Linked DNA regions of Homo sapiens: region 1 is linked to region 2. The links are contacts of gene promoters, found by promoter capture Hi-C in blood cells and fetal thymus (Javierre and others, 2016). All regions are on one chromosome and are shown on one strand. The core of a region is centred on a gene start or on the middle of the fragment in contact, and the rest is flanking DNA. Distances in the headings are between cores, read along the strand shown. Region 1 overlaps ANKRD55 (ankyrin repeat domain 55). Region 2 holds the start of IL6ST (interleukin 6 cytokine family signal transducer).

The links. Contacts are between HindIII fragments. The CHiCAGO score rates a contact against its expected background, and 5 or more counts as called.
Region 1: a contact is called between a fragment that was not itself captured here and the fragment with the promoter of IL6ST in region 2, in 7 of 17 cell types (activated CD4 T cells, total CD4 T cells, naive CD4 T cells and 4 more). The highest score is 8.2, in activated CD4 T cells.

The regions. Positions count from the first base shown.
Region 1 is chr5:56,180,947-56,187,221 of GRCh38, reverse strand. ANKRD55 (ankyrin repeat domain 55) reads left to right here. Exons shown (of 12, transcript NM_024669.3): 3 at 3,588-3,710. Among named protein-coding and RNA genes, the nearest start is that of ANKRD55, 49 kb to the left of the region's middle. The HindIII fragment of the contact is 8,871 bases long and covers 1-5,779 here.
Region 2 is chr5:55,992,676-55,998,393 of GRCh38, reverse strand. IL6ST (interleukin 6 cytokine family signal transducer) reads left to right here and starts at 3,431. Exons shown (of 17, transcript NM_002184.4): 1 at 3,431-3,610. It overlaps IL6ST-DT (IL6ST divergent transcript), which reads right to left and starts at 3,227. Exons shown (of 2, transcript NR_102755.1): 1 at 2,840-3,227. RefSeq lists an enhancer at 2,878-3,389, cis regulatory regions at 2,978-3,651, 2,345-4,663 and a silencer at 3,221-3,700. The HindIII fragment of the contact is 8,053 bases long and covers 718-5,718 here.

The sequences.
Region 1 (6,275 bases), core at 95-2,594, 190 kb before region 2:
AGCTAGGCTTAGGGATTCTTAGTCAGCCTAGGACATCCAGCTGGTCCTGTCTTTCAATATGTTACTCTACCTTTAGCTCTATTAAATACTATCTAATTAGATTTCTGGCAAGATATTTTGGGGATCATAATTCTATCAGGCAATGCATTCATTGTTTCTCTCAGCTGTATGTGGTCCACAGTGTGATGAATGTGCCTTGCATATTTTATTGCACTCAGTGATGAACGGATTGTGAATACATTTATGTCTGTTATATAGGCACATTATATAACATATGAACAGGCTGTTAAACACAGAGCTCCTCAGCCCACCACCAGGATCTTCCTCCTGAAGTGATACCACCAGCATCTTTGGATGTGGTCACACAACCAGATACCAGCTCCATCTTTGTCCTGTTTCTGGGCCCTATTTCTTGTGCCCAAATATACTGTGAGAAATCTTAACAAAATGTCTAGAGTCCTAGGAAGGTTCCTAATGGGGACTAATGTTCTGTGCAATGTATGGACTTTTTGTCTAATCATCATCAACAAGAGACTATTTTCTCTACATGTCCCAGATTTCTAATGCTTTCTAAACGCACCAAAAAAAAATTTTTTAAGTAGCAGTAGTCACAGCAAATATATACACTATTATATGCCAGGCCTTGTTCTAAAAGCACACAGAATTAAATATTAATTCATTTTTTTCCTCACAACAAACTTATAAGAGAGGTAGGTAGTTATCCTAATTATCATCATTATTACCTTCATTTTAAAGACAAAGAAACTGGCCAGGAACAGTGGCTTACGCCTATAAATCACAGCACTTTGGGAAGCCAACATGGGAGGATCATTAGAGACCAGCCTGGGCAACATGGCAAAACCCCATCTCTACAAAAAATACAAAAATTAGCTGGGCGTGGTGGTGCATGTCTGTAGTCCCAGCTACTCAGGAGGCTGAGATGGGTGGATCACTTGGGCCTGGGAGGTCAAGGCTGCAGTGAGCCAAGATCACGCCACTGCACTCCAGCATGGGTGACCCAACGAGACCCTGTCTCAAATAAACAAACAAACAAACAAAAACAAGGAAACTAAGGCCTGGAGAGGGGACGGTCCAAATCCACACAGCTGGTCAGTGCAAGCTGATACTGAGGTTGTCTGCCTCCATAGTCCTTGCGCTCATCACAGGAGTGGCATTTGACCTGGACACCCCTCCTCTTTCACTTCTGGCCCCCAGGCAAATGTGCAAGTGAGTCTGACTAAAACAAACAAACGAAAACAACAAAATACTACTGTGAGTAAGTTAGGGAACAACTACTCACTTTACAAAACAGTTTGTTGTCATAAGTGAATCATTTCCAATAACAAGTTCCTTTGGGGACAGACAGGTCAACCGGCACTTATGACTTCCCAAAAATACTGGGACAGAGAAACCGAGGCAAAGGGTTAGGACCACTGCCAACGAAAGATCAATTCGAACTGAAAACTAAAAAGTATCTTTGACATAATATCCACATTAGCAGAAAAACACAACTTAAAAAAACCTTTTTCTCTTTTTTTACTTTTTTTTTTTTTGAGATGGAGTTTCACTCTTGTTGCCCAGGCTGGAGTGCAATGGCGCCATCTGGGCTCACCGCAACCTCCACCTCCCGGGTTCAAGCAATTCTCCTGCCCCAGCCTCCCGAGTAGCTGGAATTACAGGCATGCACCACCAGGCCCAGCTAATTTTTTGTATTTTTAGTAGAGACGGAGTTTCTCCATGTTGGTTAGGCTGGTCTCAAACTCCTGACCTCAGGTGATCCACCCACCTCAGCCTCCCAAAGTGCTGCGATTACAGGCGTGAGCCACCACACCTGAACAGTGGCTATGCTTGAGGGGCAGAGGAGGCGTGCATGGGAGGAACGGTGTGAGTTGATCAACACAGCCTCTCCCTGGAGGCCTCCTCTTGAGCAGAACTCACCTCCCAGTCCTCCCCGTTCTCCACTTGACCCACAGTTCTTTTGTTGTTGTTGTTTTGTTTTGAGACAGAGTCTCGCTCTGTCGCCCAGGCTAGAGTGCAGTGGTGCAATCTCGGCTCACTGCACCCTCTGCCTCCCGGGTTCAAGCAATTATCCTGCCTCAGCCTCCCAAGTAGCTGGGATTACAGGCACATGCCACCACACCTGGCTTATTTTTTTGTATTTTTAGTAGAGACTGGGTTTCTCCACATTGGCCAGGCTGGTCTTGAACTCCTGACCTCAAGTGATCCGCCCGCCTCGGCCTCGCACAGTGCTGGGATTACAGGCATGAGCCACTGCACCCAGCCCCACTTGACCCATAGTTCTGTTGTCGCCTTTCTTTTTTTTTTTTTAAGACAAGGTCTCACTCTGTTGTCCAGGCTGGAGTATAGTGGCACAATCATAGCTCACTGCTTGAACTCTGGGGCTCAAGCAATCCTCCTGCCTCGGCCTCCTGAGTACCTGGGACTACAGGTACCCACCACAATGCCCAGCTAATTTTTAAATTTTTTGTAGAGAGAGGGTCTCACTGTGTTGCCCAGGCTGATCTCGAACTCCTGGGCTCAAGCCATCCTCCCACCTCAGCCTCCCAAAGTGCTGAGATTACAGATCTGAGCCATCATGCCTGGCCTGATGTTGCCTTTGACCATGCTATTAGTTGGTTCAGGCATGCACAAGGCATAATGCAGGTGGCTACCAAATTCAAAGGAGTTGCCTACAGTTCTGTTTCTTCTGGGAATGCCCTCTCATGAAATCTCAGGTGGTTGAAATGAAGAGACTTTCATGAAGGGACAGCTTGCAGAGATGACGCAGGGCTGAAAGAATGAACTAGGGATGCTGAAGCTCCACAGACTAACATCAGTGGGAAGCCAATCCCATCCTTACAGCTAAGAAGGATGGGAGGGGACCATTTTATCAGGGAACCCAGAGAGACTGACTCTGCAGAGGAAGAGACTGGCTCTGCCAAGAAAGAGCCTCCTGTTGGGAGAGAAGTGGCTCCTGCCGAACACGGCACTAGGGGAAGGCAGGAAGAAATGTCCCATCTCTCTCTTCTCCCCATCAGGCTCCTGCCCGTGCCTCTCATGGGCAAGCAAAAGGGTGAGGGAGCCTGGGTGGAGCACTCGGCAAGGGTCAGTCCTCAGGGTACAGAATAGGGTGGGAAAGGCTGCCTCACCCTCCACATCTGGAGAACGGAGAATGGAGAGCACAATGTCTCTTTGAAAGGTAGTAAACTGAGTTATTGGGAGGACAAGGAACATGTTCCAGATCAAAAAGGGCAATGCAGAACCAAGATGAGGGCCCCACTTCCCACTTTCCTCTCTGGGCTCCCTGGCTTCGAGAAGCCTGAATGCCTGGAAATAATCAGAAAATCTCAAATGACATCCAATCCCTCAGGTTCCTTTCCAATACACGGCGGTGTTACAAATGGCATGAGTGATCCACCTTTCTTCAGAAGTGGTGAGGGAGTGTGTAGCCAGGATGACCCAGACTTCTGCCTGGATTCACTTGAGAAGTTTTAATGAATCACTTGTGTGGGTGACGACTTGGGTATTGTTATTCTTTCAGTGAACTGGCTCCACACACTAACATTGTGTCTGTTTTATGCATGAAGGTGACTCATCTGAGGAAGTTGACCTGACCATGGTTTATCAAGCAGCCTCTAATGGAGATGTCAATGCTCTGACTGCAGTGATTCGGGAAGACCCTTCTATCCTAGAATGCTGTGACAGTGAAGGTGAGATATGTATGCATTTTGAATCCAGAATGTTCTGCTCTATTTTTTTAGAGATGGCCTTCAGACATGAGCAATGTTAATAAATGTATATCTGACCAGCCATTTTGATACTGTGCCTATGTGCAGGTACCACATCGCCTCTTATAATGAAGTCATCAGTTTGAGTTTGTTTTCAATATCTTTGTATGAATGACCAAAATAGATAGGTCAAGTAGTTAGGAAAAGGTACGGAAAGAGCAGGCTACTTTTGGTAGCAATGGATGTTGAGAAAATGTAACTGTAAAAGGCAAAGAGCAAGGATTTCTGCTTCTGGGAAGATGGAGTAGATGCATTTCTTTGGTATTATTTCTGCTAAATGCAACTAAAAACCCTGGACGTTATATGTAAACATAAAAAGACTCTGGAAGATGAAGATAAAATGACAGATGAGCTGAGATCTTCTGACTCAAGGAATGACATGGTGTAAGTGCCCAGGGTTTTCTTCTTGCCTTGTCTCTCCCAGAGCTGATGCTGAAGAAGCTGGCAACCCAGAAATGTCAACAGGCACAGACCAAACAGCAAGAAAAACAACAAAAGCCTTCTCTCTCTGGCAAAAGGACCAGGAAAGAAACAGCCTAGAAAGACAGAACACTTTTTAGACAATAAGTCCCTACTCCAGCCAAACACCACAAAAAGCCATGGGGCTCCAGCCCCACTCGTTCCAGCAAAGACTGAGTAGGAAACCTGGATTTCTAATGCCACCTTGCAATAATGAGGTGGCACCCCTTTACTTCCCCTTTACAGCAGTGCCCATGGAAGCCAGCTAAAATAAAAGGTTTAAGATCAGGAATCTCATAATATAATACCCCAAAAGTCCAAGTTTCAATCAAAAATCACTCGTCATACCAAGAAACAGGAAGATCCCAAACTGAATGAAAAAATAATCAACAGATGCCAATGAAAGAGATGTTAGAATTATCTCACAAAGATTTTAAAATAACCGTGACAAAAATGCTTCAATGAGCAATTGAAAACATGCTTAAAACTAAAGAAAAAAATAGAAAGTCTCAGCAAAGAAATAAAAGACATAAGGAAAAACCAAATGAGAATTTTTAAAAATCAAAAATACAATCATCACAATGGTAAAACTCAGTGAATAAGCTCAGCAGCAGAATGAGGATGCAAAGGAAAGAAGTAATGAACTTGAAAACAGAACAGTAAGAAATAGCCAATAAGAAATAGGTAATCTGAAGAGCCCTATAATTAGGAAATTGACTTCATAATTTTAAAATCCCCCCCGAAAAAGATATCTCCAGGACTAGATTATTTCACCAGAGATTTGTGATCCTCCCACCTTGGCCTCCCAAAGTGCTAAGATTATAGATATGAGCCACCTCACCTGGCAGATTTCTACAAACTTTTAAAGAATAACCAGCATCGATTCCACATAATCTCTTCCAAAAAGAAGAGATGAGAAAACACGTTTCAGTTATGTTTATGAGCTAGTATTACTTCACTATCAAAACCAAAGACGATGTAAAAAAAAAATAAGCCTATAGACCAGTGGTCTTCATGAATGTAGATTTAAAAATCCTTAACCAAATATTAGCAAATAGAATTCAGTAATATACAGAAATAGGCCGGACACGGTGGCTCACGCCTATAATCCCAACACTTCGGGAGGCCGAGGCAAGCAGATCACTTGAGATCAGGACTTGAGGTCAAGACCGGCCTGGCCAACACGGTGAAACCCCGTCTCTACTAAAAATACAAAAATTAGCTGGGTACGGTGGCATAAGCCTGTAATCCTAGCTACTGGGGAGGCTGAGGCACGAGAATTGCTTGAACCGGGAGGCGGAGGTTGCAGTGAGCCGAGATCGCACTACTGCACTTCAGCCTGGGTGACAGAGCGAGACTCTATCTCAAAACAAAAACAAAAAGAATATCATACACCATGACCAAGTAGGGTTTGTTTTAGGGATGTTAGGGCTGTAAGACTGGTTCAATATTTGAAAGTCAATGTAATCCACCGAATTAACCAACTAAGGCAGAAAAATCACATGTTCATATCAATTAATACAAAAAAAGCTTTAGACAAAATTTAACACATATTAATAATAAAAATCTCAGAAAAATAGGAATAGACGAGAGCTTCTTCAACATAAGGAAGAGTATCAACAACAACAACAACAACTCTAGAGCTAAGGTTTTACTTAACGGTGAAAGTTTGAGTGCTTTGCCCCTAAGACCTGGAACAAGGTGTGAATGTCCACTCTCACCACTCCAATTCAGCATAGTTTAATATGAGTGCAAAAGGGCAAGAAAAGGAAATAAAAAGCATACATCTTTCATTTTTTACCCAGACTGGGGTGCAGTGGTGCAATCTTGGCTCACTGCAACCTCCACCTCCCGGGTTCAAGCAATTCTGCCTCAGACTCCTGAGTAACTGGGATTACAGGTGCTCACCACTGCTCCCAGCTAATTTGTGTATTTTTAGTAGAGACAGGTTTCACCATGTTGCCCAGGCTCTTCTCAAACTTCTGACCTCTCAGGTGATCCTCCCACCTTGGCCTCCCAAAGTGCTGG
Region 2 (5,718 bases), core at 2,182-4,681:
AACCCCGTCTGTACTAAAAGTACAAAAAATTAGCCAGGCATGGTGGTGAGCACCTGTAATCTCAGCTACTTGGGAGGCTGAGGCAGGAGAATCACTTGAACCAGGGAGGCGGAGGTTGCGGTGAGCCAAGATCGTGCCATTGCACCCCAGCCTGGACAACAACAGCAAAACTCCGTCTCAAAAAAAAAAAGGGGGTTCTTACTGGTAAGTAAGATAAAAAATGATAGGAAACAGCTGATAAACTATGAGAAGAAAGACTGGCTGTCAGGCTGTCACATTGAGGACAAATTACAGATTCAATGGGAATGACCACAGAATAGAGATAGATGGGGGTAGGTGGCTGTAGGTACAGAGAGGGAAACTCACAATCCAGCATTTTGGAGGGGAAGTAATTTCATTGATGACTAGGTTGAAGGTGTGGCTCCATCTGTGGGTTGCTGATACAGAGTGAAGTTGAAGATGATTGGAAAAGAAAACGATGAGAAATTGTGAGGTCAGAGTGCTAATGAGTCATGAACATGGATGCTGAAATCATTAAGGTGATACAGAACATGAGGATAATTCCAGGGCTGACACAGAATTTCAGAAACATAACTGGGCACAGACAAGGAAGTAAAGGGATATCCTAGTCAGCACCAGATTTAGGGAATTAGAAATGCAGGCAAAGTTTGTCTTTGACATTTATCACCTTTGTTCCATGGCACAATTTCCTAAGCTTTGCTCACTTACTCCCAAGTAATTGTAATTTTGGTGCCTTCATGTTACTTTCTCACTGTACAGTTTCCTCAATCTCTTTTTTTTTTTTTTTTTTTTTTTGAGAAGGAGTTTTGCTCTGTCACCCAGGCTGGAGTGCAGTGGCAGGATCTCAGCTCACTGCAACCTCTGCCTCCTGGGTTCAAGTGATTCTCGTGCCTCAGCCTCCCAAGTAACTGGGATTACAGGCACCCACCACCATGCCTGGCTAATCTTTGTATTTTTAATAGAGTTGGGGTTTCACCAGGCTGGTCTTGAATTCCTGGCCTCAAGTGATCCGCCTGCCTCAGCCTCCCAAAATGCTGGGATTACAGGTGTGAGCCACTGCACCCGGCCTGCTCTTGACATATCTAAAATCTCAAATGGTCACAGGACACAAATGGAGAGTTCTCCATTAATATACTACTTTCCCCTACTTACCTTTGCATTTTGACAAGGCTTTCTAGTAACAAATCCTTAATCTGAAATTCGTAATTTCAAGGCCAATACTCTACAGAGGTATCTGCAAAGTCATGTAATTCCAGCACAGCAGAGGTCTTCCGTCCTGTTGCTCTGAAAAATACTTCTCCAATATTGATTCATCCTTTTGGCCTCAGACTTTAACTACTCCCATAAAATGTGAGTTTCTTGGGAGCAGGACCTGAGCTGAGCCAATAAAAAGACACCCATAAAAGCACTAACTCAGTCATTTGTTTTCCTAATGGTGCCAAGGCAGGCTGGTGTGTTGTGACATATCAATCCACTTCTGTGTACCTGCCCTTCCCCGTCCAGCAAAATATCATCATTTTTAATATATGTTGTGATACTAAAATATTTCAGAAGTGTTGACCGAGTAGACATTCAATAATGATTATAGCTGATACTTACAGAGCACCTACTATGTGCCAAACACTGTATGTATTTTAACTCATTTAATCCTTGCAACAATCCTGTTAGGTTGGTATTGTTATTCTCATTTTGCAGATGAAGAAATTTGAAAAGACTTGCCCAAGGTCACAGAGATGAGAAATAGAGGCATCAGCATTTAAACCTAGGCAATCTAGAACCAGAGGGTACATTTAACCACTATACATCTCCCCTAAATACATCTTTGCATCACACCTGTTATCTCAGCACTTTGGGAGGCCACTAAGGCCGGAGGATCGTTTGTTGCCAGCAGTTCAAGACCAGCCGGGTCAGCATACCAAAATCTTGTCTCTCCAAAAATTTTAAAAATTGGCCAGGTATTGTAGGGGCACCTGTAGTCTGAGATACTTGGGAGGTTGAGGTGGGAGGATCGCTAGAGCCCAGGAATTTGAACGTGCGGTGAGCATGATCCAGCCACTGCACTCCAGCCTGGGTGACAGAGTGAGACTGTGAACAACAACAAAAAAATCAAGTTTCCTGGATCTATACAAAATTTTCAATTTAACAAATTTTTATAAAAATTTGTTTTAAAATAAACACCCCTCTAAATGGCAAAGCTAGAACAGAATCTGGTCACAATCTATAGGTTAGATATAGGATGACAGGGAGGAGCAAGAGCTGAACACATCAGCTGCAGCACCATCTACTTTGCCTGCGACTCCGTTAGCAGGCCCACTTTGCCCTTTTATAAATTATCTGATCAACAACTAAGAGATTAAAATTCGATCTATGTTTTACTCTATCTGAATCCTCAATATAATGAAGAACTTTATAATTGTTAATTTATGGATATAATTTAAGTTCATTAAACCATTATTTCCTTCCTATATCCTCTCATTCTTCCACAAAAACCTCTACCTTTGGGTGTTTACTTTTACAGACACCCACGCACACACCCCACACGCACGCACGCACATGCCTTATCTTTTAACTCAAGATTCTCATCTTCCTTTGGGGAGAAACAAACATCATGAGCCTTGAGGTCCATTTTCTGAGGGAAAGGGGGGGGCGGAGGCGGGATGAATAGGTTTTTACCCGGTATTTTTTATCATAAACGGGGAGGTACAAACCGCAAAGAAACACTAGTCGCTTGGTGGGCCACCACCTCTGGGGCTCACTGATCAATCGCACCCAAACTCATTTACTAATTTAAAAAAGTACTGTGGCAAGGCTCGTTTACGTAAGTCTTGGAGAGAAGCCGCCGCCACAATCTGCCGCAGTCTCGTGCGGAGTCACGGCCACCGAGCTCTTCACTTTCCCCAAGAGGCTCCCACGCCTTCCCCATCCCCAAGGGAGCTAGGCGGTCCCTCGCGGCTCTGAGTCCCTCGGGGAAGGCCGCGAAGAGAGGCCGCAGGCGCCCTGGCGAGAAGGGAGGGCGGGGGCAGCGGGCGGCGGGCAGCACCCGGGCTCCAGTTCATGACCCCGTTATTCCACAGAAAAATGGAACATTCCGCTCTTTCCGCCCACAGAGGGGAGGTGGGGGGAACCCTTCGATCTAGTCTGGGAGAGGCGACGCGGACGCAGCCACCGGAATCCGGGACGCGAAGAGCCGCGTTACGGGAATCGCTACCCCTCGGAGTCCCGCCCCCTCGTCGACAGGCGGCCACTGGACCAATGCCTGGGCGCAAAGGGTCTCTCAGGGGCCAATCAGCGCCTAGGTCCCGGTAGGGGGCGGGGCGCAGCGTTGGCCGGCCGGGGGCGCAGCTGGGCGGGATTGGGGAGCGCCCCGCCCCGCCGCGGGACTGGGGTGGCGCGCTACCTCTGCGGAGAAGGATCTGACAGTGTTCCGGAGCCGGGGCGAGCAGCCAAAAGGCCCGCGGAGTCGCGCTGGGCCGCCCCGGCGCAGCTGAACCGGGGGCCGCGCCTGCCAGGCCGACGGGTCTGGCCCAGCCTGGCGCCAAGGGGTTCGTGCGCTGTGGAGACGCGGAGGGTCGAGGCGGCGCGGCCTGAGGTGAGGAGGGGCCGGGTGCTGGGTCGCGTAGCTGGAGTTAGAGTGTCGGTGGTTTCGGACGGGCTATCTGGCACTCGAGGAGACCTCCCTTCCCCCTGAGAGCAGCGCCCGGAACTTGTCAGCCCAGCCTGGAAATCCCCACATTCCTTCCCCTTCCTGCTCCCGGACCTCCGAATTCTACTTCCACAACTTTGTCACCTCGATTATCGCAGCCCTGAGTACAAACTTCACCCAGGCGCACGCACGCACCCCTCTTAACGCCCGCCCCGCAGAACGCCCTTCAAGAACAAACCCCCCTTTTTGTTACCAGATCCCACGTTTTTCCCAATCCCCTTTTCATCTCCCCTGAAATTCTATTCGCTCCGCACTTGTCTTCATTCTCGAGGTGGATTTCCCTTCCCCAAAGCCGTTTTTTCATCTTGAAATCGTAACGTTTCAGCTTTGTTGAAAGTTCACAATGCTTATAAACACTATTAACGTTTCTTTCCTTCTTTTGATCTTTTCTATTAATAATTATCATTCCTAACGAATTCCACATCTCACTGTATCCCAAGGAGAACAAATCAGTTTTTAAAATTTTACCTCCTCCGACCTAAACTTTTGAAGATAGTGCAGGAAGCAAGGGTCTGTTCTTCAGTGGATGAACAGCATTTTATTTCATAATCCGAAACTGAAAAAAAAAAAAAATCACAGGTTAAAAATAAGACGTCACCTTTTTTTTTTTTTTTTTTTTTTGCCTTCAGAAGGAAACGCATTTTGGCTTAGTTTGTGAAGTATTTCAACAATTATACTGCCTTAAAATAACTAGTTATTAGAATGCCAGGGTGAATTTTCTGAAAGATTGTGGTATTTGCTTTTGACAGTGCTGTAAACAAACCCTTTAAACTGTGTATGACTGCCAGCTTCAAGTTGGAACAACTCTTAATTTGAAATTACGGACTCAGATCATCAGTTTAGCTGTGTGCCATTATGTTAATTTCTTAAATTCATGTTAATTCCTATTTGGAAGTATTTTTGAACTATGAACTGAAATATTACATTTATAGAACCAACTTGCTATTAAATTGTGCTTTCCAACTATTTCTCTTTAGGGATAATCTTGAACGTTTGTTTTTAATCTTGAGTGAAAGAAAAAAATTACAGGAAGGAGAAAGTGTCAAAAAGGACAGACTGTAGTGGGATTTTTTTCTTATTTTAAGTATGTATTGACAATACCAGTTTAATTTTCTCACAGGCAATTTAGATTATTATAAATACTGCTGCCACCTAATTTAATATAATATAGTCTTACGTAACTAAAAATGTTGTTCTCACTCTTATTTGTGAATTGCAGTATTTTCAATTTATTTAAATTTGTTTCCAAGGCTTTGCACTTCAGTTCAGTGTTAGGGCGAAAGTTAAATACATGTGAAGTAGGTGTTAAAATGTCCCCTTTATAGAGAAGGAAACAGGAGTCTCGCTGAAAACTAGATCTGTGTGACTCCAAATCCTGTGCTCTGAATCATTTTGTCATGTTGACACGTTTCTCATAAAAACCCCAGTGCCACAATTTGGTTTGGGAACTTAAGGGCAACCCATAAATCCTCTACAGTGGCAGGGAGGGATTCCCCGCTCCCTCCTTTCAGAGCTGCTCATTTTAATGGGAGTCAGAATTCTCTGGCCCTAATACATTTGCAGCTTGGCTCCTAGAGAAGCATGGAATGTTCTCACAGCTTCTCCGTTTCTTTGATTGCAAAGGCAGAATGATCAGAGTTGAGGTTCCTATTGTGCTTTATTATTTTACACAGCAAATACTAAGCAATTACTACCTGCTGTACGAACTCACAAAGGTGCAGGAGATGTAATCAGGACCTTCAAAGAGTTTATAATAATTGGATTGACAAACTTATACGAAAAAAACTACAAGGATGCAAAGCAGTTTTAATTAAATGCAGAGTGATGCAGAAAATCCTGTAGATATTAAAATTAGGGAATGATCGTTTAAGGATTGGAGTGAGCATTTAAGGATTGGAATGAGCAAAGGATTTACCAGAAGTTGGCCTTGAAACCTGGGTAGGATTTGGATAAAGGGAAAAATGAAGACAGCCCATTAATAATAGCGAATGGAG